6 separate regions of the Homo sapiens genome follow, and regions 2, 3, 4, 5 and 6 are each linked to region 1. The links are contacts of gene promoters, found by promoter capture Hi-C in blood cells and fetal thymus (Javierre and others, 2016). All regions are on one chromosome and are shown on one strand. Each heading gives the region's core, a stretch centred on a gene start or on the middle of the fragment in contact. The rest is flanking DNA. Distances are from core to core; before and after follow the strand shown. Region 1 holds the start of DHX30 (DExH-box helicase 30). Region 2 overlaps PTPN23 (protein tyrosine phosphatase non-receptor type 23). Region 3 overlaps CDC25A (cell division cycle 25A). Region 4 overlaps CDC25A (cell division cycle 25A). Region 5 holds the start of SCAP (SREBF chaperone). Region 6 has its middle 29 kb from the start of ELP6.

Evidence for each region. The method cuts DNA at HindIII sites, captures the fragments that hold promoters and counts their contacts. A CHiCAGO score of 5 or more calls a contact.
Region 2: a contact is called between a fragment that was not itself captured here and the fragment with the promoter of DHX30 in region 1, in 3 of 17 cell types (megakaryocytes, endothelial precursors and M2 macrophages). The highest score is 5.8, in megakaryocytes.
Region 3: a contact is called between a fragment that was not itself captured here and the fragment with the promoter of DHX30 in region 1, in 1 of 17 cell types (endothelial precursors). The highest score is 6.1, in endothelial precursors.
Region 4: a fragment that was not itself captured here is called in contact with the fragment with the promoter of DHX30 in region 1 in 1 of 17 cell types (endothelial precursors); the score reaches 5.0 in endothelial precursors.
Region 5: a contact is called between the fragment with the promoter of SCAP here and the fragment with the promoter of DHX30 in region 1, in 2 of 17 cell types (endothelial precursors and neutrophils). The highest score is 6.5, in endothelial precursors.
Region 6: a fragment that was not itself captured here is called in contact with the fragment with the promoter of DHX30 in region 1 in 3 of 17 cell types (endothelial precursors, megakaryocytes and erythroblasts); the score reaches 9.4 in endothelial precursors.

Annotation. Positions count from the first base shown.
Region 1 is chr3:47,801,832-47,804,539 of GRCh38, forward strand. It overlaps DHX30 (DExH-box helicase 30), which reads left to right and starts at 1,307. Exons shown (of 22, transcript NM_138615.3): 1 at 1,307-1,381. RefSeq lists a silencer at 878-1,727 and an enhancer at 1,452-1,977. The HindIII fragment of the contact is 8,641 bases long and covers 1-2,708 here.
Region 2 is chr3:47,398,448-47,401,155 of GRCh38, forward strand. The region is part of intron 2 of PTPN23 (protein tyrosine phosphatase non-receptor type 23); the gene reads left to right. Among named protein-coding and RNA genes, the nearest start is that of PTPN23-DT, 18 kb to the left of the region's middle. RefSeq lists a silencer at 85-266. The HindIII fragment of the contact is 800 bases long and covers 954-1,753 here.
Region 3 is chr3:48,183,491-48,186,198 of GRCh38, forward strand. CDC25A (cell division cycle 25A) reads right to left here. Exons shown (of 15, transcript NM_001789.3): 3 at 1,163-1,205; 4 at 310-346. Among named protein-coding and RNA genes, the nearest start is that of CDC25A, 3.6 kb to the right of the region's middle. The HindIII fragment of the contact is 4,715 bases long and covers 1-2,708 here.
Region 4 is chr3:48,161,801-48,164,508 of GRCh38, forward strand. It overlaps CDC25A (cell division cycle 25A), which reads right to left. Exons shown (of 15, transcript NM_001789.3): 13 at 2,507-2,637. Among named protein-coding and RNA genes, the nearest start is that of CDC25A, 25 kb to the right of the region's middle. The HindIII fragment of the contact is 8,518 bases long and covers 1-2,708 here.
Region 5 is chr3:47,474,580-47,477,287 of GRCh38, forward strand. SCAP (SREBF chaperone) reads right to left here and starts at 1,362. Exons shown (of 23, transcript NM_012235.4): 1 at 1,220-1,362. It overlaps LOC105377073 (a long non-coding RNA gene), which reads left to right and starts at 1,366. Exons shown (of 3, transcript XR_940821.3): 1 at 1,366-1,785; 2 at 2,063-2,123. RefSeq lists a silencer at 910-1,449. The HindIII fragment of the contact is 8,042 bases long and covers 1-2,708 here.
Region 6 is chr3:47,541,038-47,543,745 of GRCh38, forward strand. No RefSeq gene overlaps it. Among named protein-coding and RNA genes, the nearest start is that of ELP6, 29 kb to the left of the region's middle. RefSeq lists an enhancer at 1,908-2,408. The HindIII fragment of the contact is 3,910 bases long and covers 1-2,708 here.

The DNA of each region.
Region 1 (2,708 bases), core at 57-2,556:
ACCCCGGTCTTCTAGCCAATGTAGAGAGAAAGAAAAGAGATACATGTTGAACTGTTTGCACACAAAAGTGACGGGATATGGCACTAATTCTTCATACAGCCTCAAAGGTCACATCTTTTTTTTTTTTTTTTTTTAAGTTTCATTCTTGTCGCCCAGGCTGGAGTTCAATGACACGATCTCGGCTTACTGCAACATCCGCCTCCCGGGTTCAAGTGATTCTCCTGCCTCAGCCTCCCGAAGTAGCTAGGATTATATGCGCCCGCCACCACGCCCAGCTAATTTTTTTGCATTTTTAGTTGAGACGGGGTTTCACCATGTTGGCCAGGCTGGTTTTGAACTCCTGACCGCAGGTGATCCACCCGCCTTGGCCTCCCAAAGTGCTGGGATTACAGGCGTGAGCCACCACGCCCGGCCTAAAGGCCACATCTTAAAACCATACTCTGTAAAATCCTGACCCAGCTTCAGAGCTACGCCACTGCGTTGTTTCCTTTTGAAGCTGAATTCCACTGAACCTATACTTGAACCTTATCTAGAGGACTACAGCGTGTAATTGGGACAATCCCCTTTCTCATTCCTAAGAGGTGATGTGGCCGGGCGGACCTCCAGATTTCCAGCAACTATGACTGGCACTCTCCCCGCGACCAGCAAGTGCCACCTTGTCCTTTGCCTAACGTTGTACAGTTTACGAAATCAACGAACCAACACGTTGATTTCATCTTCCCTGCAAACTGGGGAGACAAGACAAAAATGCTCACCTCCCTAAAAAAACAGATTAGAGGGGAGATGGGGAAGAGAAGAGGCGTGGCTACGAGCTGTGGCGGGGAAGGCGGGTGGAATCCCGGAGCCCGAGCTGGAAACCGTTCCCCGCTCAGCCATGACCCGGGCTGTTTATTCGCATCAGGAGGCGCGGGTGGCTCGCAGAGGGCGAGAAGACCCTTCCCGCTTTCACACTGCAGGCAGCTAAGTCGCCGAGAAAGGCAGCAACTTGACGCCCGACCCCGCCACCCAAACCCGCTCGCTCTGCGACCCCAGAGCAGCCGGCGCCAACCCGTCCCCTTCGCGACTCCGCCGGAAGTCCCGCCTGCACCGCCGCCGCGCCCCATTGGGCCGGGTGCTGGGGCATCCCGGGCGCTGGGTGCCCCGAGCGGCTACGACGAGTCCCAGGTGGGGCCGGGCTCCAGGCCCGCGGGGGAGCGGAGCCGTGCGCCGCAGGCGGGCTCCGTGACGCCGGGTGGGGAACGCCGGGCCGGTGGCGGGACTTCCGCCACGGGACTCGGAAGGGGCCGCGCCGCCGCTGCTGGGAGTTGTAGTCCGGCCGTGGTTGGGGGAGCCGCGGCTCATGCGCGGTGCACAGAGGCTTGTTTCACATCTGTAACAACAGGTGAATTGGGCTTTTTATTCTCCCCTTTCGTGCCCTCTTGAGGAGCCTGCCGCGGCCGGGGGTGGTCGTCGTGAGGAGGGGGCCCGGTCCGACCGCCAGCCTGGCGGAGAGTGGGGCGGAGACGCCGGCGGGCCCGAGGAGCAGGCCGGGCATCCTAGGCCTGCCCGGGAAGCCGGCCCGGCCGATCCGTGGGCAGCCAGGCCTCGGCCTGCCGTTGCCATGGAGCCCGGGCGGGGGCGGGGGCCAGACCGGTCCGCCGGGGCGGGCCTCGCAGCCAGGGGCTCCGCGGAGGCCGTGGGAGAGGCCGCTTCATTGGCGCAACGACGCCTTCGCCTCGGGATGCGCCGTTTCCCCAGGCAGGGCCTGGAGGAAGCCTCCTGAGTGCCCCGAGACCTTTGTCTACTTCTCCTCCTTCCCGGTGCTGCCCGGACCGTTCGTCCAGAGGGAGGCCCGGTGCCTTCTGGCCCCCCTAGTTTGCCCCCTTTTGCACCGACCTTGTCACTGGGGGAGGCCAAGGGGTGAGGTATTCTTTGTTTGCTGGTGGTAACTTGTCCCATTTAGCAGGGGAAGACCAAATGCATGTTGGGTCCTTTGTTTGCAGTGAACTGGAGTCCCAGGGGTCCTCAGAAACCCTAAGCCAGGGATATGGCATATCTAGTCGTTGTGTAGCAACATTGGTCACTTGAATTATGATTTTTCAAGGCAGAGGCTGTTTCACTTTACAACCCCACTCCATGAGGGTTTGCCATACACTAGCAGGTAGACTGCAGAAGGCCACTTACAGGCTTTCAACCTGGTTTTAGTTGCAGCTTATGGGCCAGAGTGAAATGAGACGTTGTCTGGTGATTTCCCTTGAAGTTTCTTGCAAGGTGGTAACCCCACTGTCATTGTGGGTTTTAACTACATCTTGTAATTTACACTTAAATCTTAGAGATTTAAGGCGATGTGCAGAAACTACATCCTTTGCTGCGTTTTCTACCGGTGTTGGCTCTTTATCCCTAAAAGATAGTTGCTCTTCAAGTGTTTTAATTTATGTAGCTGTGATACAAAGTTTTATTAGGGCCGGGAGCGGTGTCTCACGCCTGTAATCCCAGCACTTTGGGAGGCCGAGGCGGGTGGATCACCTGAGGTCAGAAGTTTGAGACCAGCCTGGCCAACATGGCTAGACCTCGTTTCTACTAAAAATACAAAAATTAGCCGGGCATGGTGGCGTGCGCCTGTAACCCTAGCTACTTGGGAGGCTGAGGCAAGAGAATTGCTTGAACCCAGGAGGCCGAGGTTGCAGTGAGCCAAGATCGCGCCATTTCACCCCAGCCTGGGCAACAAG
Region 2 (2,708 bases), core at 104-2,603, 400 kb before region 1:
ATATCTCTGGATATCAGATTCTCCCCCTTCCCCGGGATTTGCTGGGTTTTTTTGTGTGTTTTTGATTGTTGTAGGCTACCCCTGTGCCAAGAATCAGCCTGAAATGTAAACTTAAAGTTTTTTTTTTTTTTTTCCCGAGACAGGGTTTCGCTCTGTCGTCCAGGCAGGAGTGCAGTGGCACAATCACGGCTCACTGCAGCCTCCATCTCCCCAGTTCAAACCATCCTCCCACTGCAGCCCCCAAGTAGCTGGGACTACAAGTGCACACCACCGCATCCAGCCAATTTTTAAATTTTTTGTAGAGATGGGGTTCCCCTGTGTTGCCCAGGCTGGTCTCAAACTCCTGGGCTCAAGTGATCTTCTGGCCCCAGCCTCCCAAAGTGTTGGGATTAAAGGCATGAGCCGCAGCACCCGGCCTTGTAAACTTAAGGTCTTCACAGGTCTTTTCTGAGCCTGTACCATTCCCTGCACATGTGCAGACTTTCTCATTTGCCCTATATATGTGGTTGCTTTTGAACATCTTACTCTTTAGTGTCTGCCTCCCAAAGGAGGAAAAAGAGAAAAATGAAGAAGGGAAAAGATGCCAGGCCTTTAGATCCCTTGGAAGTTCCTTCAGCTAGAGGTGAAGAAGCTTACAGCCGTGGAGGGAGGTGCAATAGTGGAGGAGCTGCCTCTTTCTCTGTACCTCTGTGATCAGAAGCAGCAATCAGCAAGATCTCCTGTATTTGGAGGACAGAGTCCTTTTTGTCCATGCTGGCTCCCACAAGCTGCTCCTGGAACTGGTGCTGGGGGTGGGGGATGGGTGGCTGCTACTATGGTAGGGGCTGAAATTGACCAAAATTAATGGCAGTGAGCTGTACTGTCAAAGCCTTTGCCTAGAAGTTGCAAGCCTTTAATAGACTCCAGAGTTAAGTCAGATTCTGCCAGTGCAGCTTGTCTTGGTGGGGAGACCAAGCTTCTTCTTATGCTGTCTTCTCAGAACCCTCCTCATAAGTTGAATCTTTAAAAAGGGTTTATTTGAACAAAGTTTGAAAACTAGTGAGATAATCTTAGCCCCTGGGGCAACCGTCATTTTGCACACACAGGCACACACTACACACAAGGACGCAACACACCCTAGAAGGAGCATTACCACCAATCTCCAAAGCATCCTCTGAGACATATCCTCCAAAGCATAAGGCAGGCAACCTGCACAGAGCAATGGGCTGGGTAGAGCAGCCCCTGAGAGAGCTGTGAGCCAGCAGCCTTCAGACCTGTGCTTTTCCAGTGCGAAAAAAGCTCACACATGGCCATCTGGGGTAGCCACTTCCCCTTCCTGGGACTTGGTTTAATTTATCCCAGCAATGTGGGAGTTGGACTAGATCACTGTTTTTTTTGTTTTTGTTTTTAAAGACAGAGTCTCACTCTGTCACCCAGGCTGGGGTGCAGTCTATCTTGGCTCATTGCAACGTCTGCCTCCTGGATTCAAGCGATCCTCCTACCTCAGCCTCCTGAGTACCTGGGACAAGTATGCACCACCATGCCTGGCTAATTTTTGTATTTTTTGTAGACATGGAGTCTCGTATATTCCCCAGGCTGGTCTTAAACTACTGGCCTCAAGCAATCCTCTGCCTCAGCCTCCGAAAATGCTGGGATTACAGGCGTGAGTCACCACGCCTAGTCTAGATCACTGTTCCTTATACTTGTGAAACCCCAGAACAAATTTTCTTACATAGGACGTTGATAATAATCTTTCAGTGAAAAAGTTATTGGAAGCTTTAGGCAGTCCTCTTTCCCTGATCTGAGCCTCAGTTTCCTCATCTGTAAAACCAGGGTTTGAATAGTTGTTTCTAGGAAGACTTTCCTTTTTAAACTCTGAAATAAATTCTTGGCTCTGTGATTACAGGGAATAAAACTGACAGGTGCAGGGGATGCTATGGGGGCATCACAGCATCAAGCTCTCTCTCAGACTCCTCTGTGCGGCTCTGCGCAGCTCGTCTGAGAGTCTGACAGACCAGGCTAGAACCACAGGGGGCTGCATTCTTGGGTGGATTAAAGGGTACAGGTGATCTCTTGGATCTGGAGGGGAGACTGCTTCCATTGTTTCCCAAAGATGGTTTTAGGAAGTACAAGACAAATTTTATTTTATTATTTATTTATTTTTGACACAGAGTTTCACTCCTATTGCCCAGGGTGGAGTGCAATGGCACAACCTCGGCTCACCACAACCTCTGCCTCCAGGGTTCAAGCGATTCTCCTGCCTCAGCCTCCCGAGTAGCTGGGATTACAGGCACTCGCCATCACGCCCAGCTATATTTTGTATTTTTAGTAGAGACAGGGTTTCTCCATGTTGGCCAGACTGGTCTCAAACTCTCAACCTCAGGTGATCCACCCGCCTTGGCCTCCCAAAGTGCTGGGATTATAGGTGTGAGCCACAGCACCCGGCTTTTATTTTATTTTATTTTATTTATTTTGTTTTATTATTTTATTTTTTGAGATGGAGTCTCACTCTGTTGCCCAGGCTGGAGTGCAGTGGCGCAATCTCGGCTTACTGCAAGCTCCGCCTCCCGGGTTCACGCCATTCTTCTGCCTCAGCCTCCCAAGTAGCTGGGACTACAGGTGCCCGTCACCATGCCTGGCTAATTTTTGTATTTTTAGTAGAGACAGGGTTTCACCTTGTTAGCCAGGGTGGTCTTGATCTCCTGACCTCGTGATCCGCCTGCCTCGGC
Region 3 (2,708 bases), core at 137-2,636, 380 kb after region 1:
CAGAGTGAGACCCCCATGTCTACAAAAAATACAAAAATCAGCCGGGTGTGATGGTGTGCACCTATATATAGTCCCAGCTCCTCTGGAAGTTGAGGTGGGAGGATCACTTGAGCCAGGGAAGCAGAGGTTGCAGTGAGCCAAGATTTTGCCACTGCACTCCAGCCTGGGTGACAGAGCAAGACCTTGTCTCAAAAGAGACTAAAGAAAAGCAGTTTTTACTCTCTAAATTAAGTCTCCTATCAAGGTCATGCTGGTAGCTAAGGAACAGATAACAGGTATTAGCTCAAAATAAACAAGGAACTAACTTACAGGTAGGGAATGTATTCTTCTCATAGGATTTTCAAGGCTGTAATGAGATCAGAAGGTAAATAATGAGAATAAAACAAGTAAAGAGGTATTCATATTAGCAGAGAGATAGTGTTTAGCCTGTAGCTTGGGGGTACAGTCACAGACTCCCATTTTAGGCAAGAGATGGGAGAATAAATTTCTGAAGCTGTCCTGTTCTCAGGAGCACCCCCAACACTAGACTTCTAGGTGAAAAAAAACAAACCCATGTCTTTTCTTAAAATACACACATTCGGCTGGGCGCGGTGGCTCACACATGTAATCCCAGCACTATGGGCACTATGGGAGGCCGAGGAGGGTATATCACGAGGTCAGGAGTCTCGAACTCCTGGCCTGGCCAACACGATGAAACCTCGTGTCTACTAAAAATACAAAAATTAACCGGGTGTGGTGGTGCACTCCTGTAGTCCCAGCTACTCGGGAGGCTGAGGCAGGAGAATCAGTTGAACCTGGGAGGTGGAGGTTGCAGTGAGCCACTGCACTCTAGCCTGGGCGGCAGAGTGAGACTCTGCCTCAGAAACAAACAAACAAACAAACAAAAAAACCCCACATGTTCTTGTAAGGCTATGATGTCAGAGCACAGAGTAAGGGTTTGGGTAAGACCCAAACAGAACACCAAAATTATAGCTAAAATAAAGGAGAAAAAGTTCTGAAAATTGCTGACACAAACTATTCATTCTTGAGATTCCAGAGTGTTTCTAGGCACAGGTAAATCCAGGGCTCCAGTCCAGTGTATGAAGAACTTCATTTAAATAAGGTATTTAAGTTTAGACACGTTTTTTCTACATATAAACATTTGAAAGCAGTGAATACATACTTTTCTTTACTGTCCAATGGCCCAGGAGAATCTAGACAGAAACCTATGGGGAAAAAAAAAACCTCTCAAGAAATAATACAAAAAACACCATTTTGTCATTAAAATTAAAACACTAAACAAAGTACCTGGGTCTTTATTTAAGTCAGGCAACAAATATTCATGGCTTGTACTTTTGCCAGAATTGATGTTACGTCTATTAGATTGTCAAAAATGTCATGTTTGTACAAGTCTTAATATTTTCATAGCGTATTTACTGTTTTTTCTCCTATTTGCAAATAACATCAAGGGAAATAGGATTTGAGAAGAGGGTGAATAAAACTGATTCATATCATGATTGTTTGGTTATTCAGATAGAGGTGACCCAGATAACTTTCTGTGAGTTCCAACCATAGAAACAATAGGTACCAGATTTTCTTGGCATAGTTTTTAAACGTTTTACCTTGTCAAATCATATGAGGCTTGAAAAATACAACTACTGACCAGGCACAGTGGCTCACACCTGTGATTCCAATACTTTGGGAGGCTGAGGCAGGCTGATGGCTTGAGGCCACAAGTTCAAAACAAGCCTGGGGCAACATAGTGAGACTTGACTCTACCAAAGTTAAAAAAAAAATTAGTTGGGTGTGGTGGCACGTGTCTGTAGTCCCAGCTACTTGGGGAGGCTGGAGTGGGAGGTTCGCTTGAGCTCGGAAAGTTGAAGCTACAGTGAACCCTGATTGTGCCACTGTACACCAGCCTGAGACCTGGAAAACAGAGCAAGACCCTGTCTCAAAAAAAAAAAAAAAAAAAGGCCAGGTGCAGTAGCTCACCCCTGTAATCTCAGCACTTTGGGAGGTCGAAGTGGGTGGATCACCTGAGATCAGAAGTTTGAGACCCACACCTGTAATTCCAGCTACTAGGGAAGCTGAGGCAGAAGAATTCTCTAAATCTGGGAGGCAGAGTTGCCTGGGTGACAGAGTTGAGACCTTGTCTCAAAATGAAAAAGAAAAATACAACTACTGGTCATGACATGCAAGGCAAGCACTTGCTGCCTTTAACAAAATGACACCAAGGTGTCCATCTCACAAAAGGCAGCAGGGTGAAGGAGACACTGTTCAGCATTACTAATATGCCAGCTCAGATGACGCAGACCCACCCACCCATAGCTCATGTGTCTATACAGCCTTATGGAAAGTGAGGTGTTACAGCCCTTGCTCACCACACTGCTACAAGTGATAATCCTATCCCCAGTTCTATATTAAATTACATTCTACATACAGAAGCCTACATTACATTTTAAGACTTGCTCTTGCAGTTCCTTTAACCTAAAGGATCTTTGCACCAATGGTCTTATCTGTACAAATACAGATAAACTCTGCAGTAATATGAATTCATGAAGAATGAAATGCACTGGCAATTTCCTCCATAGCAGCATCACTGAAATGATTTCATGACACTGTACTTCCAATCATTTGATCCTGTATTTTAACCAGTAAGATTGCCTGAATGCCACTTACAGTGGTATGGTGAATTATACTTTACTACCCATCCTTCAAGGGCAAGCACA
Region 4 (2,708 bases), core at 121-2,620, 360 kb after region 1:
CTATAATCCCAGCACTTTGGGAGGCTGAGGCGGGTAGATCACTTGAGGTCAGGAGTTCGAGACCAGCCTGGCCAATGTAGCAAAACCCCGTCTCTACTAAAAATACAAACATTAGCTTGGCATGGTGGCATGCACCCGTAGTCCCAGCTACTTGGGAGCCTGAGGCAGGAGAATTGCTTGAACCCGGGAGGTGGAGGTTGCAGTGATCCGAGATCGCACCACTGCACTCCAGTCTGGGTGGCAGAGCAAGACTACATCTCAAACAAACAAACAAAAAAACTGCTGAGTGAATAATTCCATTCATGAATGAGCATCCTTTGGAGACAGATGTTTGAAGGACTTATGAGATGACAGTCAAAAGTGTCAAGTTGTACTGTAGTTGCCTGTGTGTAGAGCATGTACATACAAATGTGACAAAATGTTAAAAATTAATAAAATCAGGTGAAGTGTGTGCAAGTATAACCTTTGTGTGTGTGTGTGTGTGTGTGTGTGTGTGTGAGAGAGAGACAGAATCTCACTCTGTCACCTAGGCTGGAGTACAGTGGCATGATCATGGCTCACCACAGCCTCGACCTGCTGGGCTCAAACGATCCTCCCACCTCCTATTTTTTGTAGAGGTGTGGTCCCACTGTGTTACCCAGGTTGGTCTGGTCTGAAACTCCCGAGCAAGTGATCCTCCTGCCTCGGCCTCCCAAAGTGTTGGGATTACAGGTGCCACTGTGCCCAGCCATAACCTCACCTCTTCTTGAGCTTTAAAATGGTTCAGGTCAGGCGCAGTGGCTCACGCCTGTAATCCAAGCACTTTGGGAGGCCGAGACGGGCAGATCGCAAGGTCAGGAGATGGAGACCATCCTGGCTAAAATGGTGAAACCCTGTCTCTACTAAAAATACAAAAAAATTAGCCAGGCGTGATGGTGGGCACCTGTAGTCCCAGCTACTCGGGAGGCTGAGGCAGGAGAATGGCATGAACCCAGGAGGCGGAGCTTGCAGTAAGTCGAGATTGTGCCACTGCACTCCAGCCTGGGTGACAGAGCGAGACTCCGTCTCAAAAAAAAAAAAAGGTTCAAAGGGGTGGGCACAGTGGCTCATGCCTGCAATCCTAGCACTTTGGAGGCCAAGGAGAGAGGATTGCTTGAGGCCAGGAGTTTGAGACCAACCTGGCCAATATATTAAGACCCCATCTCAAAATTTGAAATTTCTGCTGGGCGTGGTGGCTCACACCTGTAATCCCAGCACTTTGGGAGGTCAAGGCGGGTGGATCACCTGAGGTCAGGAGTTCAAGACCAGCCCGGCCAACATGGTGAAACCCCCATCTCTACTACAAATACAAAAATTAGCCGGGTGTGGTGGTGCACGCCTGTTATCCCAGCTACTCAGGAGGCTGAGGCAGGAGAATCGCTTGAACCCAGGAGGTGGAGGTTGCAGTGAGCCGAGATCATGCCACTGCATTCCAGTCTGGGTGAAAACAGTGTGCCTCCGCCTCAAAAAAAAAAAAAAAAAAGAAAGAAAGAAAGAAAGAAAAAGCCAGGTGCAGTGGCTCACGCCTGTAATCCCACTACTTTGGGAGGCTGAGGCAGGCGGATCACCTAAGGTCGGGAGTTCAAGACCAGCCTGACCAACATGTAGAAACCCTGCCTCTACTAAAAATACAAAATTAGCCGGGCGTGATGGCGCATGCCTGTAATCCCAGCTACTTGGGAGGCTGAGGCAGGAGAACTGCTTGAACCTGGGAGGCAGAGGTTGCAGTGAGAAGAGATTGTGCCACTGCACTCCAGCCTGGGCAACAAGAGCAAAACTCCGTCAAAAAAAAAAAATTGAAATTTTTTAATTTAAAAATGTTTTTTAAAATAAATTGGTTCAAAATAAAAAGGTGGCATAAGAACGTGGTCCTGCAGAAGTCTCCCTTGGACCATCCTAGTTAAGCTGCACTCTCTGTCCTACCTCTCTGCCTGTCCTCCTAGCATTTATACGGATCCCCACTTGGATCTCTGCTGCAGTAGGGTCCTTGTTGGTCCTGCTCGCTGTGGTATTTTTACTGTACTGTGTTTTACTGTAGTTACATTTTTATTGTCAGTGCCTGACAAACAGCAGGCTTGCAATCCTTTTAGAATGGACACAGATGACTGATGGGCAGCTCTTTGGCCCCCTTTTTTCTTTTCACCCTGAAATTGGTAATAATATCAAGTGTTTCAAAGCATCATATCATATGAGGTTTTACAGAATGAGAACTTCACACTTTTCTGGCATTTGCATAAGGAACGGTCACTTTGTACTTGAAGGAGGTCACATGAGAACAGTAGCCCCACAGATCAGACTAAGGACAGTCGGGGAGACTGGAAGAGCCAAAGTTCACCTCAGGATAAAATTACATATGAAAATGGCTTGTTATGTGCCAGAGGTTGCTTGATATGCTAAAATATGCTCCAAGTGCAAGCCACAAACCACCATGTCCCACAAAAGCATCATGGAGCCTGTGCCCCAGAACCCAGTTCCGTGCAGCACTCACATGCGGGGACCTCTCTCAGAAGAAAACTCGCAGTGAAACACAACAATGACACGCTTGCCATCAGTAGGTACAATGGGCTTCTTCAATAAGAAGTCTTCAACCTCTTCTTCCATGTGCAAGTTCACTGCACCCTGTGAAGACAACAGAGACCCTTGGAACCTGCACGTTTCACACATGAAGTAATGATTCAGCAAGATGTAAT
Region 5 (2,708 bases), core at 112-2,611, 330 kb before region 1:
AGCCCAGGAGTTAAAGACCAGCCTGGGCAACACAGCAAGACCCCCATCTCTACAAAAAAATACAAAAATTAGCCGGGCGTGGTGGCACACACCTGCTGTCCCAGCTACTGGGGAGGCTGAGGTGGGAGGATCACCTGAGCCCAGGAAATCAAGGCTGCAGTGAGCCGAGATCGCGCCACTGCACTCCAGCCTGGGAGACAGAGTGAGACCCTGTCTCCAAACAAACAAACAAAAAACAAGTCTTTAGGCATCACTGAGGAACACCTAAAATGGATACAGCACTAACTAGACACCCTCGACCCTGACTCCCTAATAAAAGCGTCAGTCTTTTGCTCAATATCCTGACCTGACAGCAAACCAATAAAGACACGGCATAACCAAACTCCACAAATTTTTGGCCAAATAAAAGAAACACACGCAACGCTAACATTAAACCTTTTCTATGGCCGCTTCACGATAAGTATTACAAAATCCCCAGAAAGAGTTTATTCACCTAGCTCCGACTGTCGCCATACAAGGTGGAGCAGTGAGTGACCCGAACCAGGGGCTGACCCCTGCCAGAGCCCCCACAGCGACTCACTGCCCCCCCCTCCGCATTCCCATCTGCACAACTTTCTGTGATTCAAACAGTCCGGAGCCAGGGCTCCCTGCAACTAACGCTATCGTGACATTATAAGCCGGTTAAATACTGAGGTCATAAACCCACTCAGAAGTAAACAGAAGCAACATTAGTGAGCAAAGTTGAGGTTTAAGCAATACGGAAAACTAGAAACCAAGCAAAACCAGCAAAGCAACTAGCGTTGTCTCTCAATAAGATCTTCCAAAAGAGGCAAAGTGGAGAACCTGCTCTCCCCCGCACTCCGGAAAACCCAAACAGCACCAAAGCAGGTTCTACAACAGCTTCCCGGAGCAACTAGGCCAGGGGATGCGACGCCGCGCATCTCCCCCCGTCACACCAGGGGCCCGCGGAGGTCTGGTGGGGACGCGGAGCTCCAGGGGCCGGCCGGTGCAGGGACACGGCCGGGTTGGGGGTGGGGACGCGCGGCCCTGCCTCCTTGCCGGCCTGCGGTCTCCAGGGCCGGCCCGCACGGCTGCTGGACAGCGCCATGCCCACGCACCCCCGAACCTAGCGGCCCCCATTCCGGAACTCCCAGCTCCACGCGGCTGGGGTCGAGCTGGGGCCCGCGGGCAGGCGCCCTGAGCACCCGCGTGACGGTACCTGTGGTGGCAGCACCTCCCAAGCTGCGGCGGCGGCGGCGGCGGCGACGGGGGCGGCAGCAGGGGCGGAGCGCGGCGTGCGCGCTCTCGGCCCGCAGTCCGGTGCGTGGCGCCCTCCCTCTCTCTCCTGGCCGCCGGGTGCCCGCCCCTTCACCTCTCACCTCCTACCTTTACCCTCCCGCCCCGCCGCCCTCCGCACGTGCGCCCAGCGGCGTGCGCATGCGTAGTCGAACCACATTCGCGTCTCCCGTTCGCCCTCTGGTGGACACCGGAGGGAAGTATGGACGGCCGGGCCGGGCCGGGCCGGGCGGAGCGTGAAGCCGGGTTAGGGCCCGCCGGGTTTGGGCCCACCGGCTCTCATCGGTCATCAAGAACTTGCAGAAAGCCGGGCACGGTGGCTCGCGGTTGTAATCCCAACACTGTGGGAGTCCAAGGCGCGAAGATCGCTTGAGCCGAGGAGTTAGAGACCAACTTGGGCAACGTAGGAGACCTCCGTCTCCACAAGTAAAATTAATTAGCCGGCTGTGGTGGCGCGCACCTGTGGTCCCAGCTACTCAGGAGGCTGAGGTAGGAGGATCACCTGAGCCCGGGAGGTCGAGGCCACAGTGAGACAAAAAACAAAAAACCCACCCTGCACAAGATGCTCATGTTCCCTGTTTTATAATGGCAAAAAATTAGAAGCAGCTGGGCCGAGATACACTGCAAATGCAGATGAGAAGAATAAATAATGTCCATAAAACTAGTTTCCCTATAGACATTTAAAAGCATAAGTTGACATTTAACCATTTTCCACAGGGAACAGGTATTTGTTATAATAGCAACAGCTACGTTCACTGTTTACTAGGTGTCAGTTGCGGAGCTGGTATTGTACATGTCCTCGCATTTGGCCCTCCTGAAAATCCGAGGTAGGTCTTGTTACAGGGCCTCACAGAAGGGGAAGGGGAGGCTGCCTCCCCTCGAGGGAAACACAGGTCCCCACCTGCCCAGCTCTGGCCCAACTAGAGACGCTGCCCGGACCACTCTGGGGGGACTTTGATCATGCTACTGCATGCCCTTGCTGTACCCAGGTCTTGTGTCAGAGGTAAGCCTCCCCTCAGCCCCTGCCTACTGCCCGAGACACCCGCACCCACCCCAGGGCTACCTGGATAAGGCAGGCCCTGTACCTGCCCTCAAAGGCACCAGCAAACTTCTCTGGGAGTTCCAGAAAGTGCAGATCTAGTCACCAATGCAAGGCAGAAATTAGAGGTGGCCCTTCTGACCGCACCAGCCCCCGACCCACTACACATTCTTCAGATACCTCCTCCTAAAACCCAGTTCCCACCGGACTCTGGCCTCCCTCCTTGCCCACCACACTATTGTCACAATGAAAGTAACAATGGGGACAGTGGGCCTTGGCCCAAAGTGACTTTCAGGGTTATGACATTTTCAGCATTGTCTTTTGGCTTAATATGGGAATTTTGATCCTATAAAGAAAGTATTCGCTGGGCGCG
Region 6 (2,708 bases), core at 149-2,648, 260 kb before region 1:
TGCCCCCAAACCCATCTGAACAAATGGAGTAGTACTTCTATCAGAAAAATGACATTGGGGACCAGCTCAGGGTGACTAAACTGAGAGATGCATGATGTTAGCAAGTCACTGAGGTCCTCAGACCCGGGCAAGAAGGGCCGTGATCCTCCCCGTGGGGCAATGCTCCTCAGAGGCAAAGGACATGCCCACTCAGAGGCCACACACCATGCTTGGCACTGGGGATCCCAGAATCTCTTGCCCAAAAGGCTCCAAGCCCCTGCTCCCCTAGCGATGGGGTCTGAGAGGAGGCTAAGGGATTGTGAACAAAGCGGGAACATGTGGCCTCAGGGGGCCGCACGCGGATCCCTGAAATCCCCTGCATTACAGGTACAGCCCGGGATACAAGGAGAGGGACCAGGTTGGGGGCAGCAGGGCTCCTCTCCCGGCCCCAGCACATTCTCAAACAGAACTCTGAGGAGTCCAAGAAATCTAAATTCAAACTTAGCATTCCAAGTCATCATGAAGGTCAGAGTGGAGATTTGCTTATTGAATAGTTAGTTTGTACGATTACTCATAAACTTTCAGACATGGCCCTCTGTGTGTCCCCCAGTCCTGCCCTGTGAATGTTCATGTGTGCCTGGGCAAGGAGGCATGTGTGCTCCTCTGAGTTCAGGCAGCACCTAGAGAAGCGCAGCCCCTTCCGAACCCCCACAAATGTCCTAAGAAAAGCACCTGTGACATTGAGGGGCCAGGAGAGCTGTCACGTGAGGGTCAGCTGAGGGGACTAAAGACATTCAGCCAAGAGGAGAGAAGGTTCAGGAGTGGCACTCTAGTTGTATTTTGTTCTTGGAAAGATGATGAAAGAAAAAGGAGGACTTACTCATTTATTCCAAGCGCTCAGAGAGTAGACTAGGTCCACAGTGTGACTCAGGGAGGCAGGAGGGCTCACTGAAAAAATGACCCATCTAACAAAAGGTGGGGAAGGTGGGGAAGTGGTAGAAGAACAAAACAGGGAGTGAAGCACGGTGGGAAGTCATGAGGGCTTTCTGCTGGAGGAAGTCCAACTGTGCGAGGTGCATGATCTTTGAAATTTTGCAGGGGTGATTTCAGCCACAGATGGAGGTCTGGGGCCAGCTGATGATCAAGCTCATCCTGCCCCGAGAGTCTCTCTGAGTCTGCCTGGGGAAAGCATGTTGCAAGTCCCTCACAGACAAGCCTCCCCTGGTCCCTGACATTATGCATCTGAAACTCTTTCCATTTTCCAGGAAGGGTAAATCAAGGCACAGGGCAGGGAAGTCACATGGGTACCTGGTTACCAGCTTGTCCCGCTCCGTGTCAGAGGGGCCTGCAGTGTGCTCCTGCTGGTCATGCTCTCCTCCACTTTTTTGCAGGTTGGCAGGGTCTCTGGGGTGGGTGACAGTTCTCACATGGATAGTTCTCTATGAATGCCAGAAGCTAGAGTCCGGTGTCTGGCATTTGGCAGGGCCTGGGAAGCCAGGGGAGCCAAAGGGAGGTCTTTTTTCCTGTGGGAACTCATTCCAGTTGCCAGCAGAGTGAGGAGCAAAGCCATGGCACTTGGCTTTCTGGTGGTTACTCCTGGCAACCTTGTCGTGGCCTTGGACATGGACCCGGTCTGCCCCAGGGTTTCTGTTTCTCCATCTGTAGAACAAGGGTGAACTTCTGCCCTGGCTGGCCATAGAGCCGGCCGGACCAGGAAGCGTGCTGTCCTCCTTGAGAGGGCCAAGCAGTCACCAGAGTAAAGACAAGTGAGAATCAGGGCCTGCCGCCTCCCAGGAGAGGCCCAATTAGAGCAGCGAGTGGTTCCCACCAGAGGCTCTGGCCGGCCCTCAAAGCTAGCCGCGTGGGCAGGCAGCAGCAGGCTGTGTGATTAACGATGGCAGCTCGGGCCGCCCACTGGGCCTGGCCTCAGGAACTTCCAATGAGCACACATAGTGCCAAGGGGAAAGAGGGCCAGCTCCCTTTCTTCTGCAGCGAAGGGAGGAGGGAGCCGGCCGAGGGAGCACCCGGCAACCAGAGGGCAAACCCAAACAAAGGGCCACGCTTTTGAGGGCTCCTGAGACCTCGGCACAGGCCTCCCCGGGGGCCTCAGAGAGGGGTGGCATCAGGGATCCAGAGTTCAGCTCACTCCACAGGCCCCATCAATACATCCCAAGAAGGCTCAGCCCTCTTCCAAGCCCAGGGCCACGATGCAAACAAGAAACTGCTCCATCCTCAAGGAAACAGAGTCTACCATGCATTCATTCATCCATCCATCCATTCACTCAACAAAGACTACCACCTACTGAGTGCCCTGAGACCAGGTAGTGAACAAGACAATCAGGATCCCTGCTCTCAGAAATCTCTATTCTGACTCCTCAGGCAGAAAGCAAGTAAACCAATGCGGAAAAACTACACAGAGGCAAAGAATGGTTATGGGCACTGACTCCACAGGCTGAAGGCTCTGGGTTCAAAGCCCAGCCCTGGCTCCACCATCTGACCACCGGAAAGCTATTTAACCTCTGTGCCTGGGCCTCCTCCTCTGTAAGGTGGGATAATAAAAGTATCTATCACACAGGATAGCTCTAAGAATTAAAGGAGTTAATATATGTAAAGCACTTCAAACACTACCTGGCATATAGTAAACATCACAGAAATATTGTTTTTCATTTGTTTGTTTGTTTGTTTTGAGACGGAGTCTCGCTCTGTAACCCAGGCTGGAGTGCAGTGGC